Linked DNA regions of Homo sapiens: regions 1, 2, 3, 4 and 6 are each linked to region 5. The links are contacts of gene promoters, found by promoter capture Hi-C in blood cells and fetal thymus (Javierre and others, 2016). All regions are on one chromosome and are shown on one strand. The core of a region is centred on a gene start or on the middle of the fragment in contact, and the rest is flanking DNA. Distances in the headings are between cores, read along the strand shown. Region 1 has its middle 51 kb from the start of IL22RA2. Region 2 has its middle 54 kb from the start of IL20RA. Region 3 has its middle 12 kb from the start of IL20RA. Region 4 overlaps IL20RA (interleukin 20 receptor subunit alpha). Region 5 holds the start of OLIG3 (oligodendrocyte transcription factor 3). Region 6 has its middle 37 kb from the start of IL20RA.

Region 1 (4,442 bases), core at 611-3,110, 370 kb after region 5:
CTTCCTGTAAGGCTGGGTCTCTATAAACCATGAAATAGACACCAGAACAGCTTCCTAGGAGGCTTTTTAGCATTGGTTTCATATGTGAAGTACAACTCTTGCTTTTTAATGGTTGACTAGTCATACATATTTAAATAAATTTATTGGCACTCTAAAAAAATAATTTGGAACTTGTCAATTAATTTGTAAAATTAATTGTCTGTTAAAAAGGTTTTATTGAATCTATGTAGGTAACTACATTGCCACTGAAAGAAAAGGGATTCGGTAAAAATAATTGTTGCTGATTACTGAAGGATCAATGACCATAAGATACTCTTTTTAAAATGTCCTAATAAAATAAGATTGGAAATAAAAGAGTTAAGAATAGATTAAGTAGCAGTATCCATCATATACCTATCAAAAATATAACATAGATGTGGAACACTTGCAGGGAACTAAAAAAAAAGAAAAGATATGATATCAAAACTAATGCTAACATTATTCCAATAAAAAATCACAGTTTTGTATTCTCATCATTTCATCATTTTTCTTTTTTTCTTTTTTTTTCTTGAGACAGAGTCTTGCTCTATCACCCAGGCTAGAGTGCAGTGGCGCAATCTCAGCTTATTGCAAACTACGCCTCCCGGGTTCAAGTGATTCTCCTGCCTCAGCCTCCTGAGTAGTTTGGATTACAGGCGCCCGCCACCACACCTGGTTAATTTTTGTATTTTTAGTAGAGACGGGGTTTCATCATCTTGGCCAGGCTGGTCTCGAACTCCTGACCTCGTGATCCACCTGCCTTGGCCTCCCAAAGTGCTGGGATTACAGGCATGAGCCACCATGCCCGGCCCATCATTTGTCTTAATTAAGTCTTGCCTCACTGGATATTGGGGAGAAGTCTAGTTTCAAGAGTTCATGTCTTTTCTGGACAGTCTGACAGTAGTCTAAGTAATGCCCACTCAGAAGCCATGTCTGCGTGAGTCCAGTCTTGGAAGTAACAATAAGTGTAGAAGTTTCTGGTAGAGTCCTTTCCACTAAATTTCTGAAACTATCCTTTTTTGATAAAGATCCATTTCTAGAGTTGTAGCTTATAGCAGAGGCTTCAGGCAAGTATAAGAGAAGGGCTGAGACCACTGGTTTATAAGAAGACAGACTGGCTGCAGTTAGTATAATAACTAACAAAATCAGAATGAAGGAAAGTAAAATTTTCTACTAGGGTATAATACATAATTGCCTTCTGAGGATTTGATCAATATTTCCCCTGAAGATAAGAATAGTCTATAAACAGTTAGAATTGTTAACAAATATCCAGGGCTTTCCAATCCATCCTGCCAAGTTGTAACAAGCTCTGAAACACACTTATCAGTAGGACTTTACCAGCACAGAACTAACCTAGGAACAGCTGAGCCTCATTTATTTAACCTTTTCCATGAAGCTGTCATGATAGCGTTGAACGAGTTAAGAAAAATAGACCACCCCAAAACTAATTATTTTTAGCCCCCCTCTTTTTATAAAGTTTAATTTAAAAAATCAATTTTTAATCTGGGAAGAACCTCAGAGGAACCACATAGTTTGTTTAGTGCAAAACGTTTTTAAGAAAAAAATTTTATGAATCTAAGATCTGATCTTGGGAAGGCAAAACTGAAACAACACAAGTGGATGGTTTCTAGTTCAGAGCATTACACAGGTGCTAGTGATCAGCGTATAGCCATAGTAGGTGGTTTGGCCCCTTATTAATAAGAGGCTCATGTAGCATTTAAAAATAAACCCAACAGAAGGTAACACCATCGTAGGAAAACTTAGCTTACTCAGAAGTAACTTTTATTCTTTGCTTGCTTGCTTACTTGTTTGTTTAATAATCAAGAACAGGCCAGGTACAAATGACTCATGCCTGTAATCTAGACACTTTGGGAGGCGAAGGCAGGAGGATTGCTTGAGGCCAGGGGTTCACAGTTACAGTGAGCTATGATCATGTCACTGCACTCCAGCCTTGGTGACAGAGCGAGAACCTGTCTTTAAAAAACAAACAAACAAAAAACAAACCAAAGTCAGCATAAAGCATAGAAAGTTATTTTGATGAGATATGTAATCTCTGCCATTTGAAATAACACAAAGGTAAAGGATAATTTACTACCTCTTAATAAGCACAGACTGAGGACTGCAAGTCCAACTTATCACATTTTAACAGAGGAAAAAATTTATAGTCTTGCATTAACACGGTATTCATGTGTTTTCTTTTTTAAAAAAATCTTACAAACAAACCTGTCAAAATTGAGCCAACTTTGCCAAAACTTTTAGCACATTGTGTTGCTTCTTTTCAGATTCATTTACCTTTAGGTATTAATCCAAGGCAAATAAAATTCTCTTTCTGCAAGCCTTCTATAAACCTTAAATATCATATCAGGTTTTTTCTTTACTACTTCTTTAACAAGATGCTCTCCTATAAGAAAGTCTACTCTTTCTCTTCCTTGCTAAATAATAACTCATCCCATTATTACCTAGATTCTACATTCATACTTCTCTGCCTCCACTTTACTTAGGATAGTCTCAACCACATAGAGTAATCATAACTTTTAAACAAAGTAATTAATTTCTCTTTCATGGAAAACTCTGGAAGACAGGACATTGAGAACTGTCTTTCGTACACTAGCATTTTAGCAGACCAGCAAAGCTCACAATGTGTGTGTGTGTGTGTGTGTGTGTATAGTATCTGCCAAAGAAGAATAGATCTTTGTCATTCCAACAGAGATGACAAAAAAAGTCAGTGCATAGAACCAGATCTCCATCCACTGCTGCCACAAAAGGAGAGTAACAGATTAGCTGTGCACAAGCCAGACTCACATGTACACAGGGTGGCGATCTCAGTAGAGACAGGCTGGGTATGTATTAATACTAGTCCCTGAACTTCAGTGAAAAAATAAATATGGACCAAACTTAAATTAGACAAGGCATAATTGGATGAATAGATGTAGCTCAGAACAGAAACAGAAACAAAAACAAAAACAGACTTGAAGAAGGGAAAAGAACAGAGAAACAGAGCCAGCAGGGTAAGTGTTTATTGCTGCTTGAGATTGTCTCCAAGAGCACAAGAAATACCTGGCATCAATCAGTGCAAAATTCAATAAGCCTAATTAATTTCAGAAGGGGAGTTTCCTGGGACATCTATGTGGAATCTCCAAAAATTGTCAAAGTACAATATTCAGTTAAAACAGATCTCCCAGCCTCATGAATATAACACATGTTAAAGATTTATTGAACTCATTATTAATGAAGGAATCAGCAGAAAGTTAAAGCTGGTTTAGTTCCTGCTTATGGTTTCAAATTGCTTTTCTCTAATCAACATCCTTTTAATACCGTCCTTTTTCTGTTTAAATTACCCAGATTTGGTTTCTGCTGCTTACACCTAAGAGACCAGCCTACTACATAAATTAGTACCATCACTGGTTCCAAATAACAGGCCTTGAGAGACAGAGAAAATTTGTGTGTATATTTTAGCCTTGTTAGAGCTGAGGGCAGTGAAAACATAGGTAAGAGATGGGACACTAGAAGCTAATGCTTGCCTTTAATCAAATTTCCTCTATGATACCCTGGAATAAAATGTCCCTTGAAGTCAAGGCTTTAGAGGAATGAAGGGAGGTATTGTCTCTAGAAGATTTAAAAGCTCTAATACAAACAAATGGAAGTTTGTTTGACTTTTATTACCATGTGCCTGTATACTCATTCACTAGCTTTTTTGGTCTGAAAAAAAGTAAGTGGGTTTTGGAAAATGACAAAGAGTAATTGTAGGTTTAATCAGGTAGTAACTCCTGTTATAGCTGCTGTTGAAAAAACAGTCATTGATTGGAGAAAGTCAACACAACCTCTGAAAACCAGTATGCAGCTTTTCATCAGGCAAATCTATTTTTCTCTATTTTAGTCAATATAGAACACCAGAAACACACCTTCAGGAGAGAACTGGAGTGCTCTACCATCTGCAGGACATGGCACTGTCTACTGCTCAGAGGAGACTGGGCTGACAGAGCTGGAGAGCCAGAAGTAACCCTCACCCACATGATTTAGTAGGATACGTGTGTGCCAGAGGGAAGGAAATAAAATTCATAAAATTCAGGAACCTACCCAATCAGTCAAGTCCTAGGAGGTTCAGCACACTGTGAGATACCCTCTGAATTAAGTGACATGTCGCTATCCTTTTTACCCCCTACCATTAAAAAAGGTCACTCGGTGGACCTCCTCAGGGTTTGGAAGCAACATTTGGTTTACAGTCCCTTGCGTTTACTAGATGAATTGAAAATTTTTGTATTTGAGTTCAGCCCAGAAAAAGAGATGACTTTTCTAGTTCATACTGCCAACAAGCAGCTCAGCCACTTGGTTCTTAAGTCCCAGAAGAACTAATTCACTGTATTCTGTGGACAAGTTGAAAATTAACAACTGCCAACACACCCTATAGACGTGGTGAGGTAAGA
Region 2 (4,521 bases), core at 1,273-3,772, 400 kb after region 5:
TGTATTGTTTTGTTTTTCTCTGCCATTCAAAAGGAAAAAGGTATTGAGACTCCAGGCTCAGCGGGCTTAAGTGGTGTGACCAATGTCAGAGGCTATAATAGTTGCAGAATAAGGACTAAAACCTCTTCTAATCCCTAGACCAATGAGTTTCTTCCAGAGAGTGTTATTTGAAGGTAACGTCATCCATTTCGTTAAACTATTTTACCTATGAGTCCCAGAAAATGAAATTCCGTCATTAAGATATTCATTCCTTTGAGCCTTTTAACATCAGTGTCAGATGTCTCTTTTAAGATAAAAATATTTTAAGCCTCTATCAACTAATACATCAATGTGGTTAAACAAAGATGTAGCAGAAAGCTGGGCCTAATGTAGTAGTTAATGAGAGGCATGCCACCACCATAACCCCAACCTGCCTGGCAGGAAGTCGAAAGAGTAAGAGGAGAAAGAATCATGAGTAGGGAGACAGGCCTTCTCAATGGGTGTTTGGGAAGTTCCAGGGCCAGGAGGGCATTATAACTCCTGCTTCTCAATTTTGCCTATGTAGTCCCCAGAAAATACTAGTTGCTTTGAATTAAACAGAAACAGTATTATCTCAACTGAAAGCAATCTGAGGCTTTAGTTTGGCCTAAATTCTTCTCTTACAGACTTCTTTTATTTTTTTTAAGACAGAGTCTCACTCTGTCGCTCAGGCTGGAGTGCAGTGGCACAATCTCAGATTACTGCAGCCTCCATCTCCCGGGTTGAAGTGATTGTCCTGTCTCAGCCTCCTGAGTAACTAGGATTACAGGCGTGAGCCACCACGTTTGGCTAATTTTTCTATCTTTATTAGAGACGGGGTTTCACCATGTTGGCCAGGCTGGTCTTGAACTCCTGAACTCCAGTGATCCACTCACCTCGGCCTCCCAAAGTGCTGAAATTACAGACATGAGCCATGGTGCCCAGCCTCCTCTAATAGATTAAGGGGCAGAAAGAATCTTCTTATAGAGAAAGACACTATCCCGTGATGGCAACCCAAGATGCCCTATCTAAAAGAATGATTTCAAAATGACACTATCCAAAAAAGAAGGCTTAGTCAGGATAAGAATCAAGGCCTTTTCTCTTTTTTCTCTGAAAGTCAGGATTCTGGGCAGTGTCATTTTTCCCTGGTGATAACCCTCCTTTCTTTCCTGCCACGTCATGGGGCTGCTTTAAACCAGAGACCCAAGGATAAGGTTGTTAGAAAATTGGAGAGTGGCAGTGAAAGAGCAGATGCTCCCGCCTTATAAATTAGCAGAAGATTATGCACGGCCAGCTGTACCATGGAACTGCCCAGGTTTTATACCACACCGTGATCCTCTGTGTTTATCATATGGTCCAGCATCTGGTCAATTCTGTCCCCAGCTCCCATATATCTATTCAAATCAAGCTTCGGCTGGGGATTTATTTATGTATATAGCTTCAATCTCAATCAGGATCCCTCCTGAGGTCTTAACTTGCAACACGGCAGGGAATTAACCCAGCAAGTCCTTTGTATCACAACTCTAAGTTACTCATTCACCTGAAGGTAACCTTTTTTTTTTTTCATGCAAGGTTTAGGAAGTGAGGGGGTGGCCAAATGAGGAAGATATGTATGTGTGACGAGAGAGTCAGAGAGAGAGAGAGAGAAGCCTCCAAGTGTTTATACATCAACAAAACCAGACATGGATACTCTGAAATAAGGTAAAAGTAACGTACTGTATGCCTTGAATAAGAAAAAAGGGAAAGAGATTTTCCTGTGTTTAAAAAATCTTGGGCTAAACCTGAAGTTATATAAAAGTTTCCTAAGCATTTTTCTCCTTTGTAACAAGATAGTATTTCCAAGAAGAAAATCCACTAATTGATTTCTTGGCATTGAGTGTTTGCCTGGGGTGTCTTTTTCCATTTATTTTAACAGGTAGATATATGGGCCTGTCATTGTGGTTAGGCCAAAAGAAAGTTCTCATTCTCCTCTCACACCATGCATCAAAACAAATTCTAGATTAACCAAAGAATTAGACTGAAAAAACTCAAACCAAAAATAAACTTAGAAGAAAGCACTTTGCAGGCCGGGTGCGGTGGCTCACGCCTGTAATCCCAGCACTTTGGGAGGCCGAGGCGGGCGGATCACAAGGTCAGGAGATTGAGACCATCCTGGCTAACACGGTGAAACCCTGTCTCTACTAAAAATACAAAAATTAGCCAGAGAGCCAGGTGTGGTGGTGGGCATCTATAGTCCCAGCTACTCAGGAGGCTGAGGCAGGAGAATGGCGTGAACCAGGGAGGCGGAGTGCAGTGAGCCGAGACCATGCCACTGCACTCCAGCCTGGGCGACAGAGCAAGACTCCATCTCAAAAAAAATAAAAAAAGAAGAAAGCACTTTACTATTTTTCTGATCTCTGGAAGGTAAATAGCTTTTAGAATATAGAAACAATGGAAGAAGTCATAATGAAAAAAGACTAATAGACTTTATAACCCCATAAAGCTGTAAATTTTATGAGTCTTAAAATTTAGCATAAACCAAATTAAAAGACAAAAAGAGAGGTGTAAAGTTTTTTGCAACAGTTAATGAATAAAAAGTTAATATTCTTAGCATATGAAGAACTCTTATAGATCAATAAGAAAAACATGAAAACAATAAATAAATAGGAAAAAGACATAAGCAGTTTTATAAAGGGAAATACAAATTTTGGTAATTTTTTATTGTTCAATTAATTAGTAATTTTAAAACTTAAAGCAAAATACTATTCACACCTATCAACAGAAAAGGGATTAAATTATAATACTCATTTTGCAACACAAACAAAAAGTAGAAAAAATCTTAAGGCTCTTCAACTATTGGGAAATGGGAAGGTACATAGCTATGTCCTTTAAGCTGTTAGGTTCTCATTAAAAATCATTCTTGGCGGCTGGGTGCGGTGGCTCACACCTGTAATCCCAGCACTTTGGGAGGCCGAGGTGGGTGGATCACCTGAGGTCAGGAATTCGAGACCAGCCTGGCCAACATGGTGAAACCCTATCTCTACTAAAAATACAAAAAATTAGCTGGGCATGGTGGCACGCGCCTGTAGTCCCAGTTACTCGGGAGGCTGAGGCAGGAGAATCGCTTGAACCAGGGAGGCAGAGGTTGCAGTGAGCCAAGATTGCGCCACTGCACTCCACCCTGGGTGACAGAGCGAGACTGTGTCTCAAAAACAAAAAAACAAAAAAAAAAAAACATCATTCTTGGCCAGGTGCAGTGGCTCAGGCCTGTAATCCTAGCACTTTGGGAAGCCAAGGCAGGAGGATAGCTTGAAGCCAGGAGTCCCAGACCACCCTAGGGGACATAGCAATACCCCTACAAAAAAATTTTTTTAACTAGCTAGGCATGATGGCACACACCTGTAGTCCTAGCTACTCAGTAGGCTGAGACAGGAGGATCACCTGAGCCTAGAAGTTGGAGGCTGCATTGAGCTATGATCGTGCCACTGCACTCCAGCCTGGGCAACAGAGTGAGATCCCGTCTCAAAAAAAAAAGTCCCTTTTATGAGAGTTTCAAATAACAGAGGAAGGAGGAATAAATTCACATTTCTGTGGCCTAATTCATGAAGTGCCTTTTCCATATAGATTTGATCTGTTTGAAATGACAAGTCTATATCAAGCTTTCTAGTCAGTGTCTGGCAAATGGAAATTTTTTCAAGAATCTTAGCTATTATTGTAATTCTTATATAGTCTTTGAAACAACTCTGTAAAGTTGCCGTTGTTTTTCCCATTTCATCAGAGTGAGCCAAAGTTCAGAAAGTTCAAGCCCAAGGACATCTACCTGAGCTGCTGTGGTGAAGCCACGCAGTCCATGTTCTTCCCAGCCACATTTTGCTGCCAAAGGCTAAATAATTCAGCAAGATTCATCACAAAATTCAACAATATGCCCCATGAAAAATCTGTCTTCGACTGTTTGGAGGGTGGGCATTTTGTCCTTTAGGACAGATATTGAAAGAGGCTTCTGGATATCACTCTGATATGAAGCGGCTATTTTAGGATTTCAGGATGATTTCTTATAAGAAAGAGCTGGTATACTAACAGTAATTAATCTTTTACTTGCCAGAGGGAAAGAAATACTTTACAATGTCTTCATTATTTTTTCCTATTTCAGAGTTTTCCAATGTCTGAAGGCAAATATGCCTATCAATTGCAAATCACAAATTCTCAACCTGGACTCTGAGGCATGGTATTGAGTAGAATGCTATAAATATGACCCAGCTGTTAACTTTGCATGTTACAAACAGAGATGTTTCATAATGGCTCATCAAGTGACTTATAAACATCAATGATGCAAGACAGAATAACTTGTTTTTTTCTACTATACCATGATGTTAAATACATCTTCTGTATTAGATTTTGTTACCTACATTCTCCCTTTGTTTATTTTTGAAAAATAAAATCCTTTTTATGGTACTCCAGACATACATTTGCATATCAGAGAGTTGGTAAAAAGAAAAAAAGAGAGAGTTATTTGGTATAAAAAGGAGTCATTAAAGACTTTAACAT
Region 3 (4,410 bases), core at 110-2,609, 440 kb after region 5:
TTTCTTTTTTTTTTTTTGAGACAGGGTCTTGCTGTGTCACCCAGGCTGGAGTGCAGTGGCACGATCTTGGTTCACTGCAACCTCTGACTCCTGGGCTCAGGTGATTCTCCCACCTCAGCCTCCTGAGTAGCTGAGATTACAGGCACACGCCACCATGCCCGGGTAATTTTTATGTTTTTAGTAGAGACAGGTTTTTGCCGTGTTGCCCAGGCTGGTCCAAACTTACTTTTCTTCTTCAAGATTATCTTGGTTCTTCTAGGCCCTATTTTAAAATTAAAAGCCCCCAAATAACCCGTGTGCTAACCTAGCATTTTCAAAACTCTTCAGGCCTTAATTCCTTAAATTACCCAGAAAAGAGAACTATGCTACATCTGAGGTGAAACCAGACTACCTCTGGATTTGAACTAAAGCAAACTGTTAATATTGTGCTTTGTTTTTCCATACCACAAAAGAGGAATCTTTAGTTTCTTTTCACATACTCTAGCTAATTAGCATCCCTGGCAGGTACAACCACCAGCTGAATTATTATCAACAGTTGTTGCATTGAGAATTTTTTCAGTGATCGTGAATGCCAAGGTCATTCAACACTTGCAAGGATTTTCATCTTCTTTATGACCATCATTTTTTATGGTACTGACTGAAGTAACTTCTGCAACTATTTATAAACCCTCCTAGAAGCCATTGTTTCTGTTGTCAGCAGTAATGTTTCCATAGTAGTTCTCAACCTGAAAATAGAAAAGAAATGATGAAACAACATTACAAATCCTTGAGTTAAAAAAACTTCTTTGAGATTAAGTGAAAATTACCTAATATCCAGAGTATATGTATATATAAAGCGTAGTGTTCTGCATAATATATGTTATATATGATGCATATATATTCTTCCAGTTTGCAGTTTGTCTCTTCTCTCTTTTAGTGTCTTTTCATGGCAGAAATTCTTTATGTTAATGTAATCAGACTGTCAATCTTCTGATTTATGGCTAGACTTTTTATGTCTAAGAAACACTCTCTGACCCCAGGGTCATATAGATGTTCTACTATCTGGTCTTTGAAAATCTTCCTTCGCATTTAGCTCTTATATTGGCTTGTTAGGGCCGTAATAACAAAGTACCACAAACTGAGTGGCTTAAATAACAGAAAGTGTCTGACGTTTTGAGGGGCTACAAGTCTGAAATCAAGGTTTTGGCAGAATTGGTTCCTTCTGAGGCCTATGAGAAAAAATCTGTTCCGTGTCTCTCTCTCTCTCCTGGCTTCTGGTGGTTTATCAGGAGTCTCTGGTGTTCCTTAGCTTACAGACACATCGCCCCATCTCTGCTTTTATGTTCATGTGACATTGTCCCTATGCATGTGTCTGTATCCAGATTTCCCCTGATTATAAGGACACAGTCATTTGGATGAAGGGCCCACCCTACTCCAGTATGACCTCATCCTAACTTCACTGATTACATCTGCAATAACCTTATTTCTGAATAAGGTCATATTCTGAGGTACTGGGGGTTACGACTTCAACATTTGAATTTGGGGGGACATCATTCAACCCACAACAGCTCTTTAATTTACTTAAATTATTTTGAAGGTGATGTAAAATAAAGTACATACCCAGTTTTCCCAGAACCACTCACTGAAAATCCTGTCCTTTCCCCACTAATCTGAAATGTCCCTTTCACTTATCAAATGTCCCTAAATTTGGGACTCTATATACTGTTTCATAGATCTTTTTGTCTACCACAATGTCTGAAGGTAATTTTATAAGTCTTGTTATGTGTAAGGGAAACTCTCCCTCTCTAAACTTTTTCAAAAACGCCTTGATTATTTTTAGACCTTTGCAATTCCACTCAAATTTTATAATCACTTTGTCAAGTTTCATAAAAATCTGTTACAATGTTGTTGGAATCGTATTACATCTGTAACCTAATTTTGAGAGATATTGAGTCCTCAGTCCATAACCACAATCCATATCCCTCCATTTAAAAAGGCCTTCTTCAAAGTCACTCAATGAAAGTTCATACATTTTCCTATAAAGATCTTGTATGTCTTAGATATTTTTCACGTTATTACAAAATAGTACTTTTATTTCATTTTAACTATGTATTATTGGCGTGCAATTGCTTTGAGGACATTGAATGCATGAATAGAATCCTATAAACTCTCACATTCATATTTGTAAATTACCCAGAGATACTTTTCCACTGTCTGTGCATATAATCATATTATCTATGAAAGATAACAATTTTATCATCATTTCTAATTCTTATGACTTTCTTTCTTTTTCTTCCCTGCCATAATGGCTGGGACATCCAGCATAATATTGAATTCAGAAGGAATGACAGGAGACACACTTGGTTTATTCCTGACCTTAAGGAGATACTTTCAGTATGTCATCATTAAGTATATGCTCATGAAGCATTAAGATCTTCATTATTAGATGAAGGAAGTTGACTTCTATTCAGAAGTTGCCAGATTTTTTTTTTGTTTTGTCCTATTTAAATAGACATCTGATTTTTCTCCTTTATTTGTATTTGTAGTGAATTACAACTACTGATTTTTCTAATGTTAAAACAACTTTACATTTGTTGAATAAACGCTGTTTTGTTATGATGGATTCGCATCCATTTTCTCAGTGTAATTTTTTGGCAATGCTTTATGGAGCTGTAATTCACATATCATGCAATGTATTCATGTGAAGTGTGTAACTCAGTGGTTTTTAGCATGTTTGCAAAATTGAGCTACCATCATCACAATCAATTTGGGAATATTTTCATTACCCCAGAAAAAAAACTCTACTGTTTAGCCGTCACCCCCAAACCACTCTCAACCACCACCTGCCCCAGCGCCTGAAAGCAACTAATCTATTGTCTGTCTCTATAAAATTGCCTATTATGGACATTCCATATAAATAGAATTTATTTCATATAAATAGAATGTGTGGCCTTTTGTGACTGGCCTCTTTCACTTAGCATATGTTTTCAGGGCTAATCCATCCATGTATCCATACTCCATTCTTTTTGACAAATAATGTTTTATTGCATGGATACGCCTCATTTTATTTATCCATTCATCAGTTGATGGACATTTGGGTTGTTTCCAATTTGGGGCTATTATAAATAACATTGCTATGAATATTTGTGTACAAGTGTTTGTGTGGACATGTATTTTCTTTTCTCTTTGTTAGATACCTAGGATTGGAAGTGCTGGGTCATATCATAGCTCTTTGTTTAACCATTTTAGTAACTGACACACTGTTTTCCAAAGTGGCTGACTCATTTTATAGGCTCACCAGCAGTGTATGAAGGCTTTGATTTCTCTACATCCTTGACAATATTGTTGTCTTTGTTATTATAATATGGCACTTTTACCCTCATGGGTATGAAGTGTGGGTTTCACTGTGGTTTTAAACTGCATTTTCCTGATGAGTAATGATGTCAAGCTTCTTCTCCTGTGCTTATTAGCCATTTGTAGATCTTCTTTGGAGAAATGTCTTGTCAAGCCCTGTGCCCATTTTTTACTTGAGTTATTTGTCATTTCATTATCAAGCTATAAGAGTTATTTATATATTTTAGAATCAAGTCTCATTAGACATACGATTTCCAAATATTTTCTGTCATTCATTTGGTGTCTTTTCACTGTTTTGGTGGTGTTCTTTGAAGTGCAATAATTTTTAATTTTGATAAGTACGATTTACCTATGTTTTAAATTTTGATAAGTACAATTTACCTAGTTCTCTTTAATTGCTTGTGATTTTTCTGTCATATTTAAGAAACCATTTTCCTACTCAAGGTCATGAAGTTTATCTTATATTTTCTTCTAGGGGTTTTATAACTTCAGCTCTTACACTAGGTCTTTGATCTATTTTGAGTTAATTTTTGCATATAGTTTATGAGACAAAGTTCAAAGAATTTTACTCTTTGGCCATGGATATACAGTGTTCTGCATCATTTGTTGAAAAGACTACCCTTTTTCCATTGAATTGTGTTGGTGCCCTTGTCAAAAGTCAATTGACCATAAATTATTATTCTTTTGAAACTCTCATTATATGTCATTGATGTATATGTCTGTCCTTATGTCACTGCAACATTAGCTTGGTAGTAAGTTTTGAATCAGGAAACTTGAGTCCTCCAACTTTGCTCTTTAAGATTATTTTGACTATTCTAGCTCCCTTAAATTTCTATATGAACTTTAAGATTAACTTGTCAATATCTGCAAAGAAACCAGCTGGTATTTTGTTAATGATTGCATTGAATCTGTAGATCAATTTGGGGAGTATTACCATATTATCAATATTAAATCTTCCAACTTATAAGCATTGAATTCTTTCCATTTATTTAGATCTTCTTTAATTTCCTTCAGCAATGGTTTTTAGTTTTTGTAGTATAAGTTTGTGCTTCTTTTACTAAATTTATTCCTCAGCAT
Region 4 (4,865 bases), core at 1,844-4,343, 450 kb after region 5:
AGAAAAAGTTAAATTCAATATAGTTACAACAATAAGAAAAGTATGCACACAGATCTTGGAGAGATTTTGAACGATAGCTATTATACATAAAATATTTTATCTTTTAAATTTATCAGAAATTATAGTTATTTTTCCTTTTAATATTCCCGGGTAGACTGAATGGGAAGAAACGACTGACGTGCAAATATTGAGCCTTCAACTAACAGACAGAAATTTGTTTTTATTTTTAATCGAAGAGAGAAGCTGGGCGCTGTGGCTCACACCTGTAATCCTAACACTTTGAGAGACAGAGACATAGGCAGGAGGATGGCTTGAGGTCAGGAGTTTCAGACCAGCCTGGGCAACATACGGAGACCCCTGTCTATACTAAACATTAAAAAAATAAAAATAAAAAACTAGCCAGACGTGGTGGCAAAAACCTGTAGTCCTAGCTACTCCGTGTGCCCAGGAGTTCCAGACTGCAGTGAGTTATGATCACGCCACTGCACTCCAGTCTGGCCAAGGGTGAGACCCTGTCTTTGGGGAAAAAACCAAAAACAAAGAAAGTGAGAGAGAGAAATAAAATTGTTGGGTGCTGACATTACCAGGTAGTAATGTTCTTGACTTCAAAATAAAATTTACAAAACAAAACAGTAAGAAATCTTTTCTGACCCAAGAGACCTTGATACTACTTTCTTAGCTCTTCTTAGGGTATTCCCGTCCTCTCCTGGGTCTTTGGGCTAAGGTCTAAGGACTGCTGGGAAGACCACCTTAGAAGATGTATGTAGTTACCTGGATACTACCTGCTCGTAATTGAAGGATTATCTACAATGTCTTCTGTACAACGTGGGCTTACTAAGGTTCTATGACTTTGCCACTCTCAGGTAGATTAATGCTTTAATGCTCTCATTTTTTAAACTTCTAAAAATTTTCGTCTCACAGCTCAGTGCCATATCAGGCTGTAAAATACCAAAACATCCAAAGAGGAAAAAAAAAACTCAGCATGTCATGAACCTTGTAGGGAAATCTTGGTATTTCATTTCAGATAAAGTTGTAATGGAATTCAAAATGTCTATGCGGCTCCCTCAAGGCAGGTGCAACACGCTGTCATTCACTCTTGGACCCCTCCAGGGACAGAATTTCACAGTGAAGTTTATCCTTATGGCTTATCAAACTCCGCCCTATTGGCCATTCCCATATCCTGTTCTCAGGAACGATAAAGAACCATGATTAGCATAATATAAACAGGCATTTAAAGTCACTAAGATAGAATGGGAGATGGTGACTTCTCAGGTCATCTGCCTCCTCTGCTCAAAGCCCTTCAGAGGCTTCTACTGTTCCTGGAATCATTCTCAGTTCTACAAGATCCTGTGTGGCCAACTCCTGCCTGTCTCTCCAGCCTTATCTCACACCACCTAATTCCTGCTATCCTGGCCTTTTTCTACTTCCCAGACAAGCCAAAGTGTTTCCCATCTCACTCATACTGGCAGTTCCTCTGGAAGTTCCTACTGGAGATTCATACTGGCAGCCCCTCTGCTAGAATGCTGCTGTGCCACTCTATTCCCAGCTAACTCCTGCTCAGACTTTGGCCTCTCCTGCCAATGTGCTTCCCTCAAGAAGGTCTTCCCTAGGGAGTTCAACAATGAAAACACATGGACACAGGGAGGGGAACATCACACACCAGAGCCTGTCGGGGGGTGGGGGCTAGGGGAGGGATAGCGTTAGGAGAAATACCTAATGTAGATGACAGATTGATGAGTGCAACAAACCACCATGGCACATGTATACCTATGTAAGAAACCTGCATGTTCTGCACATGTATTCCAGAACTTACAGTATATATATATATATATTTAAAAAAAAATAACAGGGTCTTCCCTAAATCCCCAAAGAGGAAAAAAGTATAGCTTATGATGTCTATTAACAAATAAACTTGAGTTTTGGAGCTTTAGATTGCAGTCTAAATACCAAACAACAACTATGCTTATTAGAATGACTTAATGGAGTGAGAGTATTAGTCAAAATGTCTCTTCTTTGATACAAACATGGCAGCATTCCGTATTTTATTTCACTGAGAAGTTATTCCAGGACATACTTCACTCACACACACACATACACAGGGACATAAATGATTCTAGTGAACTAATTAAACTTGCAGAATTATTTTCTTTTTTTAACTTTTAATTTTGAACTAATTTGGGACTTGCAGAGAAGTTTCAGAAATAGCACAAAGAATTCCCATATCCCTCTCACCTGGTTTCTCCCAATTAAAACATCTTATGTAACCATTGTACAATGTTCAGACCAGGAAATTAACACTGGTATAGTGCTACTCACTAAACTATAGACCTTGCTGGAGTATCACCCATTTTTCCAATAATGCCCTTTTTCTGTTTCGGGATCCAGTCCAGGATCTCCCATTACATTTAGTGGTCATGTCCCCTTAGTCTTCTCCAACTGGTGACAGATCCTCAGCCTTTCTTTGCTTTCATGACCTTGATACTTTTGAAGAGTCCCAGTTACCTCTTCCTTAGAATATCCCTCAGTTTGGGTTCATGTAAAGTTTCCTCAAGCTTAGAATGAGGTTATTCAATTTTGGCAGAAATGCCACATAAATTGTCACTTCAAAGGATTTGTAATATCAACATGTCTTCTTATTGGTGATGTTAACCTTGATCGCTTGGTTAAGGTGGTCTCTTCAGAGTTTCTTACTATAAAGTTACGATTTTTCACTGTGTGACTAATAAATATTTTGCAGAGAGATACTTTGAGATTATGCAAAAATCCTGCTTATCCCCAAACTCACACCCAACTATTTTTAGTATCTATCGGTGGATTTTGACTGCAAAAACTACTATACCTAGTAGTGATTTTTTATTTCACTCTTTTTTTCCACATTTATTCATTGGAATTCTATTACAAGGAAGGGTCATCATTTTTGCCTTTTTAGGTATTTATTCAATTGGTTAAGTATATCAGTATGGACTCATGGATGTGTCTTCTTCTTTCATTTATAATCCAATACTATCATTATCAGTTTTATTGCTCATGCTGTTCCAGCTTTGGCCACTAAGAGTTCCTTCAGTTTGGCTCCTGTGTCCCTCTAAGGAACCCCATCTTTTTTGAGCACTTCATTAACTTTCTAGTGCCAACAACATTCCAGACTCATCTAGTGTTTTCCCTGCCCCAGGCCTGGAATTAATGACTTCCTCAGGAAGCTCTGGTTCCTTCTATTGGAGAAAGGTGTTTAGAAACCAAAATCTGGGTGTGAGGCATGCTTATTGCTACTGGAATGTTGTTTCTAGGTGCTCTCGGTGGACGGAGCTGGGAAATATGTGTGTATAGACTAACGTAGTTATACACACACATCTATATTTCTGTATGTATCTGTGGGTGTGTATATATATTTAAGACCGTGAGTTTGTAATGGTGCCACTAATTTCAACCTAACAATCAAGTTTCATTCTAGCCTTCCTCTTTCATTTACAGCCTCTTTGTCTAACAGTGAGAAACCCAGATGTCATTATCTACAATAGACTTATTTGCCTGATTCTAATATAAATATTTTCAGGATTGCTAACTCATGCTCTTATGAGAAAAACGTGTACTTACTAAATTATAGCCTTTATGTACAGTTTTCTGGTCTTAAGCTTTATAATATCCCATGAAGATACTATTGACCAAAGTTACCTGGCTTAGTCCTTTTTTTTCTTTACTCCTTTTGGTGTGGTTATTCTATCCATTTGGGATAAGTTCAGTTCATTTGTTAAACTGCTTGTATTACAATTTGGGTTCCCCCTCATGCTAGTTGTTTTGTTTGTGACATTTGGGGCATTTGGCAGCTAGGTGAAATATTACTGTGCTTATAAAAGTCAGAGCTATACAAAACGGTTTTCTCAGACAAGTGTGGCTCCCTTCTGAGCCCTACTACCTCCTTTCTATTCCTCACCATACCACCACCTCTTTCCCATTACACTATAAATGTGATTACGATGTTGTACTTACACTGTCATTGTGATATTCTGACATCATTTCTACTTTGTTCTTGGTCCACATTCCATGCCATCTCCTTCATTTCTTGTTTATTTTTCCTGAATTTCTTTTGCACCGATGAGCAAATATGTGTATGTTTTAAGATCCAGGTCTAAATCTGATTTCTGTACTGCAGCTAATGGAGGATTTGCTCGCTCAAGTGTTCTTTTTATCAAAAAAGCATGTCTTCTTTTCCAGCCTCTCTCCTATTGCCCTTCAAGCAGACTTGGGGTGATTTCTTATCTATAGATTTGCAGGCCTCCTGATCTATCAGCTTGAGGCCCAGCCCCAGCCTCCCCAGAGAGTATCATGTACCCAACATCCAAGCTTATGGCTACAGGTATCTCCAGCCTCACTCCTCACAATGTGCACTCCTCCTGCCTAGAACTACTCAGCTTCCTATAGAATGAATTCAGGAAAGGCAGTATTTGCGACCTGGAGAGCAGCCAAGGAGATTGGTTACCCATGGAAAGCGGCATGGAATAGGAACGACATAGTAGGGCTGAGGAGGAAGCACCACCTCCCTGATTATACCTTTTCGTTTAGCTCTGACTCTTAGAACCATAAGGTAGGACATATATATTTCACTTACTCATAAACTGTGGGTAAAGACAATAGGCAAGTGGGATTATTGCTTTAAAATTAAGATTTTAGTATAAACATTTCAACATAAAACTTTTGCTGTTTTTATAATTTTTTAATGAAACTGTATATCTCTATGTTGCCTTTTTTAGTGCTTGGCATAGTATTTTTCACAAAATGATTGTTCTGTAAAGTTGTATGGCTTTCTTAAAAGCAACTTTCATTATATGCGTTACATTTTAAAAATGACTTTCTATTTGCACCATTTTCTT
Region 5 (4,870 bases), core at 601-3,100:
GCTCCTGTCCAATCTGCAAGAGCACTAACTTCCTGGCCTTGACGAAGGGCTGTTGGCCATTTTTCCCCCATTACAGAAAAACAAAATTCGGTGTAGCAAAAGCATCCATGCCAATGTTGCGTTTGCCCATCCTTCTGGTATTGGCCAGAGCTGCCTTCGCAGCGTGACTGTCAGTGGGGCACAGCCTCAGAGCGTGCAAACTCCGGACCTGGGCGCGCATCCCTCTCCCACTGACCGCTCGGTTTGAGTCAAGGGAAAGGGGGGCATCCTGTTCTTCGAAGTGACTCAGCGGCGCAAGAGGCCCCAAGTGCCCGAGGTTCCGCGATTGATTCGATTTCACACTTCCACCGAGACTCTCAGTCACTAGCTAGCGTTTGTTTCCCGTTCCACCAAGCCGGGAGAGGGGCGGTGTCCGGGTTCTTCTAGAGACCACTCCTGGGGCTCTCTCCCTTCCCGGGATTTCTGCCTTCCCGCCCCTCGTGCTGCTGAGCTAAAGTCTTGATCACAAAAACACAGCAAGGGGGAAGAAAGATCTACGCCCACCTCCGCACTCGCACCGAAGGCTCCAAACTCCGACCTCCTCTTTATTCCCAGAAACGACTCTGCGCTGAACCGCAGTGCCCGGGCACGCACAAGGGGCTTTCTAGGTCCTTTCGTTGTTTCCCTTCCCCCGTGCTTCTTTGCCCACGCACCCCACCCCCCCGCCCCACCACCCCGACATCAGATAGTTTATTATGAGCTTCTGATTTCCCTGTCCGACGCCGTACGGCGGCCCCAGCCTGGTGGACCCACCCGCGCAGGCCGGGGTGCCGCTGAGTTCCCGGAGCTCGGGGCACGTCAGCACAGCGGCCAGAGGAGGCCCGGCGGAGCTTCGGGCGCGGACCGTCCCACCGTTTTGCGCCAGCGCCAAGGTCCAGGAAGCCTGGAGTGGGAACAATCTCTCTGGAGCTCTCAGGAACCTAACAATCTCTCTCTCTGCCTCCTTGGCTCCTTTTCCTTCCCATCCTCCCAAGTTGCTTTTCTTGTGACATTAACATTTTTTTTTCGCAGTTTTTGGTCTAGGAAGTTAAAGAATTGTGCAAAACTGAAATTCTTTTAGAAATCCATGTTTTAAAACGAAAGAGAGGACACAGAAAATAAGAGACCTCTCCGCCACAATACTGCCAGGAGCAAAGCCATCACCGAACATGGACATCCCGTTGAAACCACACCAGAAGGGCCCAATAAACAAAATTGACAGAATGGAAGTGTTTAGGAAAAGAGATCTAATGAAAAAAAAATATTGAGACAGAGAAAGTCGGCATGCAGTCTTCCCACCACCCCCAGCCCCCGCTGGCAGCACCTTCCCTCCGACCGCACCTCTGTCCCTCAAACCTTTCCACTGAGACCTATTTTTGCCCATATTTCTCTAAACTTGGGAGCAGCCAGGAAAGAAAGGAGAGCGAATGTTTCAATTCCTCTCTCCAAACTCAGAGGAACCTCCACCAACCGCCTGGCCACCTTCTCTTGCCTTCCTTCCGTTCCTGATGTGTGATTTGGTTAGAGAAATTGGGAAGGGGGGTGGGGTGGAAGAAAGTTAAAAAAAAAATCAGGAAGGCGTAAGCTGGAGCGGTGAGTGTGTCAATCAGAGGGTTTTGTGCCTGGGGGCTCCTAGCGGTTCGGAGCAGAGGTGTCCCAGGGCGGCCCCACAATGAATATGAATAGGAATCCTTGCTAAATGGGACAGCAAAGCGCACCGCCCTGAATGATGGCACGTCATCCTAACCAGCCCAGGATAGATAGGAGGGCTCCTTTTGTCTCTTTTCTCCGCCGCAGCTCTATAAAAGCCCCTCTTTTTCAGCGTGAGGTTAGTTCAAGCACACACCAACTAGCTGTCCAGGAAGCAGCCTAACCAGAGAGAGGGGCGTGGGAGGGAGAGAGGCGGGGAAAAGCAGCGTCTCCGCTTTTCTTCTCACGTCTTGCCGCGGAGAAGTGGGTTCCTGGGCAGTGCAGATTTTTTTTTTTTAATTCAAGATTTTCTTTAATTTCCCGCCTAAAGCCTCCCCACGGTAGGGCCGCATCCCCTGTAATAAAATGAATTCTGATTCGAGCTCTGTCTCCAGCAGAGCTTCATCTCCGGACATGGATGAGATGTACCTGAGGGACCACCACCACCGCCACCACCACCACCAGGAGAGCCGTCTCAACTCGGTCTCGTCCACGCAGGGCGATATGATGCAGAAGATGCCCGGGGAAAGCCTCTCGCGGGCTGGCGCCAAGGCCGCGGGAGAGAGCAGCAAGTACAAAATCAAGAAGCAGCTGTCGGAGCAGGACCTACAGCAGTTGAGGCTGAAGATCAACGGACGCGAACGCAAGCGGATGCACGACCTGAACCTAGCCATGGACGGGCTGCGCGAAGTCATGCCCTACGCGCATGGGCCGTCGGTGCGCAAGCTCTCCAAGATCGCCACACTCCTGCTCGCCAGAAACTACATCCTCATGCTCACCAGCTCCCTGGAGGAGATGAAGAGGCTGGTTGGCGAGATCTATGGGGGCCACCACTCGGCCTTTCACTGCGGGACCGTGGGCCACTCGGCCGGCCACCCCGCGCACGCGGCCAACTCCGTGCACCCGGTGCACCCCATCTTGGGCGGCGCGCTCTCATCTGGCAACGCCTCGTCACCGCTGTCCGCCGCCTCACTTCCCGCCATCGGCACCATCCGGCCTCCCCACTCGCTACTCAAGGCGCCCTCCACGCCGCCCGCGCTGCAGCTGGGCAGCGGCTTCCAGCACTGGGCTGGTCTGCCCTGCCCCTGCACCATCTGCCAGATGCCGCCGCCGCCGCACCTGTCCGCTCTCTCCACAGCCAACATGGCCCGGCTGTCGGCCGAGTCCAAGGACTTGCTCAAGTGAGCAGCGGGCGGGCCCGGCTGCCAAGGAGGAGGGAGAGCGGCGGGAGGGGCCGCGGTGCCGGGCCGGGAGGGAAGAGGGAGGCTGCACGCTCGGCCCACGGGAGGGCAGGCTCCGGGGCCCGCAGCCTCCCACGCTGTCTGAGAGATCTCAGACTCCACTTGACCCCCGGAGGGAAAGGACCAAAATCAAACCGCAATTTCTAGGTGGTAGCAAAGGGGGACTCGAACCAGATGTCGTGTGTTTTGCATGCATGCTTCTTTTCCCCATGCCGCGCCAGTATTTTTCACTGCCATATGCTCTTGTCAAAACTGCATTTGTTGTATAAAGATGGGATCGGTGTAGTTAAAAACTTGCGAAGGGACTTTTGAGTTGGCTTTCTCTGACTCTGTGTTCTCGCTTTGGAAAAAGACGGCCATCCCTTTTGTGCAAAACAAATGTAAATATTTTCTTGAGATGGATGCGATTATGATTGTCTCTGTCCTTGCCACAGTTTTTCTAGAGACAATGGAGAGAGAAAGAGAGAGAGAGCGCGAGAGAGATCAAGACCCAAGTTTTGAATCTCAACCGAGGTCCAGGGCATGACACCTCCTATGTGGGTTTTCCTTTCGACGCAGTGTAGGTCAAAAGAATGCATGCACGCTTCTAAATGAATCTTGTCTGAATATGTCGTGCAGGCTGTGGTGCCGTTTTCCTTGTAACAAGGATTTATTAGTGAATTATCCCAAGTACTCCATATATCTGTCTGTGGTTGTATGAAATGAAAAAAGGGGCAGAGTGCAAAGACCCACACTCACGCACACGCGCTTCTTCTCCCACCCCCACCCCCTTCAAACTTTATTCGGAACCTTCCTTTGCTGTTCTGGGGCCGCTATTGTAAAAGCCTGGGCTCCCTCTAGTAGCTTGCGCCACCCCCCCTCGCTCAGTTATTCTGCATGCGGGGTTGGCTCTCTCTATTATCAGCTTTGAAAACTTATCCTGGTTTTGGGAGGGGTGCCGTTTTTATTTTCCTGAACATTTGCTTGAAATATTTTGTTAGGGCCTCAAAGACGATACCTGTCTTTATTTTTTATATATTCTTGATAACTATGATATATTTATTAATAACCAGTGTTTCTGGATGAGATTTCAAATAAAAAAGAACCTTTAAATCGTGGCTTTGCCTTTGCCTAAAATCTTAGCAGATGGGGGTAGTGGGATAGGAAACACGTGGACCAGGTAAGGTGTATCTGGGTGAGGAATTTGGATGGGTGGGCAGATGTGAAGGTTTTCCGTGATTACGTACAAGTAAACAGGATGGGTAAATTGGTGCTGATTTTTGGAACTAAATGTCCTTCAAGCGGGCATTGCCCACATTCATAGTATTATGCTATTTGAGCTCATTTCTCTGCAGTAATCAGACCCTCATAAACTCGAGAATTGAATTTTAAAAAGTAATCTGGAAACTTAAAGTGGCAGGAAATGAGAGGTGGAGTGTCACTACGATGACTGTGTTGGCAACAAACAAGGATGAAGCAGTACGTTAACTTCTTTTCACTTTAAATTGAACTTGTGCTTTTCCCCCCATGTTAAAATCTAGTATACATTTTAAAAGTCAACAAAGAGTGGTCTTAGAAAATAGTCAAATACTCACCCTGCTTGCCTGCACCCTCGGAAGCATGGCCTACAGAGAAAGGGAAGGCTTCTCTGCTTTGTAAGGTGAGCTCCGGGTGAGTCAAACCACCACCCAAGTCTCAGAATCTTGCAGATTTATAGCGAGAATCCTCCCTTCTTTCTTCCCTTAGAAGATTGCTGGTCTGATTAGCTATATACATTGGGCATCTTCTACAAAAAAGTCAGCTAAAACGGGAGTCATTTTAATAAACTACTTTTCTCTTTTCACCTCCCGCCATAACACTTCTAAATGGTTTGTCTAAGCAGGAGTAATCCAGCAAGACAGTTTTGTCTATTTGTTTAAAGGGGACAATAAATCGAGCTGTAG
Region 6 (4,372 bases), core at 1,112-3,611, 410 kb after region 5:
TAGAGTACCAGAATCACCCACACAATGCTAGGGCCTGGGATTTGCACCAACTCATTCTCTGCTTTCCCATGCCTTATCCCAGCACCAGAATGCCTGAATCCCTCTTCATTTCCTCCCTGTGGCCTGCCCTAGTTACCTGCTAAGATCAGCATTGTTTTTTAAGATAAAACTCTTATGAAGTTCTTTGAGCTTAGATGGAAATTAGACTTCTGTCTTTAGTTGAAAGCTAGCAGTATTTGAAAAATACATGCACCTAAACAAGACAATATTAGGAGTGTGTCTAAGAAAAATAGAATAAAAACATAAATACTAATTTTTAAAATGTCAGCTTCGGGGGACGGAGGTGCATAGTGGTTTTTAGACTAAGTAAAGGAATTGGAACTATAACTATTTGCCCATAAAATTACATTCGCTCAAAACACCCACAGGCAATTGTTGAGAATGGCCAAGAAGTGGAGAGGAAAGTAGAAAAGAAAGCCATGAGAGATGGCCTGTTGAATTCTGTAATGTTTCTTTCTGACAACAAAATAACAAGAAAAATAATCTCATGTAAGAAAATGCTAATAAATTATTCTTCCTCATTTCCCCTCCATTGTTTTCACAGCATCCAGGAATTTTCAAACATAGCACTCACAACAAGTGTAATCCCAAGGTTCTCAGTGAAATTATGTTTAATGTCTGTCTCACCCACTAGAGTGTGATGCTTATAAGGGCAAGTGCTGTGACTGCTTGTTTGCTTCTGTGTCCTGCAGACTAGCACAGTGCCAGCACTTAACAGCTGTCAATACAATATCTGTGGAGAAGGAAGGAAAGAAGGGAGGGATGCTGCATGAGATGATCAATATATTCTCATAGAACAACAAGAGGAAAAAGTATATAACTAAGTATTTTCCTATTCTCATCATTTTGAAGCAAGAAAAGTCACAAATTAACACATTTTTCATTATTATGCTGAGCAGGGTGTAAAAAATAGTGCTGTTTCAACAGAACAGAAAAGGACTCAGGTATTCTCATATTTCTTTTCTGAGCCTAGATTTGCGCAGGGCCATTACATGTGATTGTAATTCCTGTAGGTAAGCAGATGGTCAGGCAGCGCACCAAGAATTATAATAATCTATGTGGGATGTTTCTAAGACATGAGTTAATGCTTTCAAACCCATAAAGCTTGGGATTTTATGGAGATGAACCACATTATAGACCCACATGCAAGCATGTACTCATCAAAATGATCTCAACTGAATCAACAGCTCAGCTCATTTGCACCTCCCGACCTTCTGGAACTGACCTGAAAGATGCATCCTCAAACCTATTTCTTCTTACTAAGGATTGCAATTAGACATAGAAAAATATATATAACTAGCAGTGCTGACATGTATTTGAGGGTTCCAATCCCTTGATCCAGAACAAATATGGGCAACACGGTAAACTGTGCTGCTATAAGCAAAAATTCTTAAATTACAATCCACTGCCTCTCTAAGATTTCAAGGAACACACCAGAGGTGATTTTGAAAGCAATGGGAGGGGGCATAAATGGAAAGATTCCCAAGAGTAAACTGATTTCCACTGATTATCCACAATTAATTGAGAGTCAGTTTTGGTGCAGTGGAAAGAAGGCAAGACTCGGAATCCAAAGAGCTAGATGTGAATTAGGACTCAGACACTATTACCAATCAATGGCATCAAGTGGTTATTGAGCCTCTCTCAGCCTCAGCATTCTCATCCATAAAATGGGGATAAACAATACCTGCGTCGCAGCATGGCTGTGAAATAACCTGTGTGAAATGCCTGGAAGACAGGCCACTGCCAGTGGACAGATTTTACTTTTCTTTCTTCTTATATCTTTCTATTTTAGTAATAATACTTTCATTTTTTACAACATCTTACTGTTTTCAAACCTCTTCTCCATAGTTTTTCTTAACCCATCTCACTGCAGCATATGATACGAACATCAATTCTGTTTCACATGTGAGAAAACCAAGGCTCATTCTAAAACCCAGGCTATTTTACTTCTAGTACTGTGCTAATGCCACTAGACTGAATATTTAATACCCAAAACCATAAGAGGAAATAGATCAAAATAGTGAGCAGATTCTAAGATAAAAATATAATAATCCAAGTTTTTAAAAGATGATAATAGGTCATATGGACAAAATGATATGGCAATCCAGGTGACATCATTTCATTTTTACTACCTGGTTGGGGCTACAAAAGACTAGAAATAAATATCTCATTAAGAATTATAGAGTGCATGATATAGGATTTAGCAGGCTTATGGAGAGCTGTGAAATGATTCATTTAAAAATTTATTTTTATTGCAATTATTGTTTGCAGAAATCTACTAATAATATACACATATATAAATATATGACCTTTATTTACAGCTCTTGCCATTGCAAAATTACAGTTAAATAGGAAGTATGTATCAATTTTAGTAACTTAATAAAATAATGAAGCAATTCATATGGTTAATTGCTATTGGGGAAATATCTTTTTGGTTCTTGTCTATTTTCATTTCATTCCTGCAATGAGTGTACATGCCATCACCAGATGTCTTCATTTAAAAATGAAGTTTAGAACAATTTTATGAAACAAAATCTCAGAAATAAAAAGATGGAACAGAGGTAAAATAGTTTTAACAAATTTTGGAGGACAAAAAGAATAAACATTAGTATTTGGAAACAGGGCATATGTGAAGTCCCCAGCATACTGCCTGCTGGATAGTAGGCTTTCTAGTCCAATTTTCCTTTTCTGCCAGGTGAAGATATTCAGAAGAATAAAAGGTAGAAATGATGAGTCAATGAAGATTGAATCTGAGAGCAGAGACAGAAGCAAAGAAGGGTCAAGATAATGAGAAAGCCAGGTGGGAGGGGTTCCCTGGAAAAACTCCAGCTGCCTGGGCCCTGGGAGGAATGCACAGTGGGATGGAGCCACAGAGGTTCCTGCTGTTTGCAGCAGGGAGGATCCCGGCCCCTCCTCTTCCTGTGTGGAACCTGGGGTGCAAACAGTGGGCTGGGAAGCACCCCAGCAGGAACTCTGGCCTTGCGGAAAGTCCCTGTTTCCCCTTTTTTTTTCCTTTTTGCCCAATAAATTCCATAATTCTCACCCTTCAATCATCTGCGAGCCTAAATTTTCCTGGCCGTGTGATAAGGACCCCTGTCTTTAGCTGAGCTAAGGAAAAAGCCCTGCAATAGTAACAGGTTCATGTTTTATAGAACTAAAAGAACCCATCAATAATTTCTTGAATACCCACTGTGTGAAGTCTGGCAGGATTTCTGTAGTGGGGTTCAGCTGTACCACCAAGATCCCAACCTCAGACTGAAGTATTGGTTTCCCAGCAGCCAGAGGTGTTGGCTGCACACAGCTATGTCTCTCTTATGGAACTGCCCTTGGCTGAAGAAAGCTGCTTTACTCAAAGTATGCTGCCCTCTTCGGAAGCATCCAGCACCCAGGGACTAATGGCTGCAGGTTCCAAGGCCCAGTAGCCCCTTGCTATAAATGGAACAACTCTGAATGGCCATCCCAGCTCCAGGGCCCCTTCTGGGCTTGGCCAAAGCTTCTGTTGAAACTACATCACAGTTGTGCCTCTCTAGGAATATCGCTTCCCTTGCACCTTCCCAGTGTTGATCCTTGGAGCACTCACCAATAAACTGCTGCCCATACATCTCCATATCAGAGCTGTTTTCAGGGGACCCAACCGAAGACAATTGGTTACACAGCACAAAAATTCTAGAAGATAACATCAAAAAAACCCTTCTAGACCTTGGCTTAGGCAAGGATTTCAGGAACCCAAAAGCAAATGTAACAAAAACAAAGATCAATAGATGAGACTTAAACTAAAAAGCTGCTGCACAGCAAAAGAAATAATCAGCAGAGTAAACAGACAACCCACAGAGTGGGAGAAAATCTTCCCAATCTATACATCCGACAAAGGACTAATATCCAGAATCTACAAGGAACTCAAACAAATCTGCAAGAAAAAAATAAACAATCCCATCAAAAAGTGGACTAAGGACATGAATAGACAATTCTCAAAAGAAGATACACAAATGGCCAACAAACATGAAAAAATGCTCAACATCACTAACGACCAGGGAAATACAAATCAAAACCACAATGCGATACCACCCTCACTCCTGCAAGAATGGCCATAATCAAAAAATCAAAAAATAATAGATGTTGGCATGGATGTGGTGAAAAGGGAAGACTTTTACACTGCTAGGGAGAATGTAAACTAGCACAAACACTCTGGAAAGTAGCGTGGAGATCCATAAGGAACTAAAAGTAGATCTACCATTTGATCCAGCAATCCCACTCCTGGGTATCTACCCAGAGGAAAAGAAGTCATTATACGAAAAAGATACTTGCACACATG

The links. The method cuts DNA at HindIII sites, captures the fragments that hold promoters and counts their contacts. A CHiCAGO score of 5 or more calls a contact.
Region 1: a fragment that was not itself captured here is called in contact with the fragment with the promoter of OLIG3 in region 5 in 1 of 17 cell types (monocytes); the score reaches 5.7 in monocytes.
Region 2: a fragment that was not itself captured here is called in contact with the fragment with the promoter of OLIG3 in region 5 in 3 of 17 cell types (naive B cells, total B cells and monocytes); the score reaches 9.3 in naive B cells.
Region 3: a fragment that was not itself captured here is called in contact with the fragment with the promoter of OLIG3 in region 5 in 1 of 17 cell types (M2 macrophages); the score reaches 5.4 in M2 macrophages.
Region 4: a contact is called between a fragment that was not itself captured here and the fragment with the promoter of OLIG3 in region 5, in 4 of 17 cell types (M2 macrophages, total B cells, M0 macrophages and 1 more). The highest score is 6.9, in M2 macrophages.
Region 6: a fragment that was not itself captured here is called in contact with the fragment with the promoter of OLIG3 in region 5 in 2 of 17 cell types (naive B cells and total B cells); the score reaches 8.7 in naive B cells.

Annotation. Positions count from the first base shown.
Region 1 is chr6:137,120,156-137,124,597 of GRCh38, reverse strand. No RefSeq gene overlaps it. Among named protein-coding and RNA genes, the nearest start is that of IL22RA2, 51 kb to the left of the region's middle. RefSeq lists enhancers at 322-491, 2,877-3,046. The HindIII fragment of the contact is 5,847 bases long and covers 1-4,442 here.
Region 2 is chr6:137,096,977-137,101,497 of GRCh38, reverse strand. No RefSeq gene overlaps it. Among named protein-coding and RNA genes, the nearest start is that of IL20RA, 54 kb to the right of the region's middle. RefSeq lists enhancers at 3,464-3,633, 4,229-4,398. The HindIII fragment of the contact is 2,230 bases long and covers 1,408-3,637 here.
Region 3 is chr6:137,055,217-137,059,626 of GRCh38, reverse strand. No RefSeq gene overlaps it. Among named protein-coding and RNA genes, the nearest start is that of IL20RA, 12 kb to the right of the region's middle. The HindIII fragment of the contact is 4,141 bases long and covers 1-3,429 here.
Region 4 is chr6:137,038,783-137,043,647 of GRCh38, reverse strand. The region is part of intron 1 of IL20RA (interleukin 20 receptor subunit alpha); the gene reads left to right. Among named protein-coding and RNA genes, the nearest start is that of IL20RA, 3.8 kb to the left of the region's middle. The HindIII fragment of the contact is 1,077 bases long and covers 2,555-3,631 here.
Region 5 is chr6:137,491,374-137,496,243 of GRCh38, reverse strand. OLIG3 (oligodendrocyte transcription factor 3) reads left to right here and starts at 1,850. Exons shown (of 1, transcript NM_175747.2): 1 at 1,850-4,045. The coding sequence starts at 2,074. The coding sequence ends at 2,892. RefSeq lists enhancers at 1-225, 226-759, 2,441-2,940. The HindIII fragment of the contact is 6,431 bases long and covers 1-4,870 here.
Region 6 is chr6:137,079,534-137,083,905 of GRCh38, reverse strand. No RefSeq gene overlaps it. Among named protein-coding and RNA genes, the nearest start is that of IL20RA, 37 kb to the right of the region's middle. The HindIII fragment of the contact is 2,389 bases long and covers 1,167-3,555 here.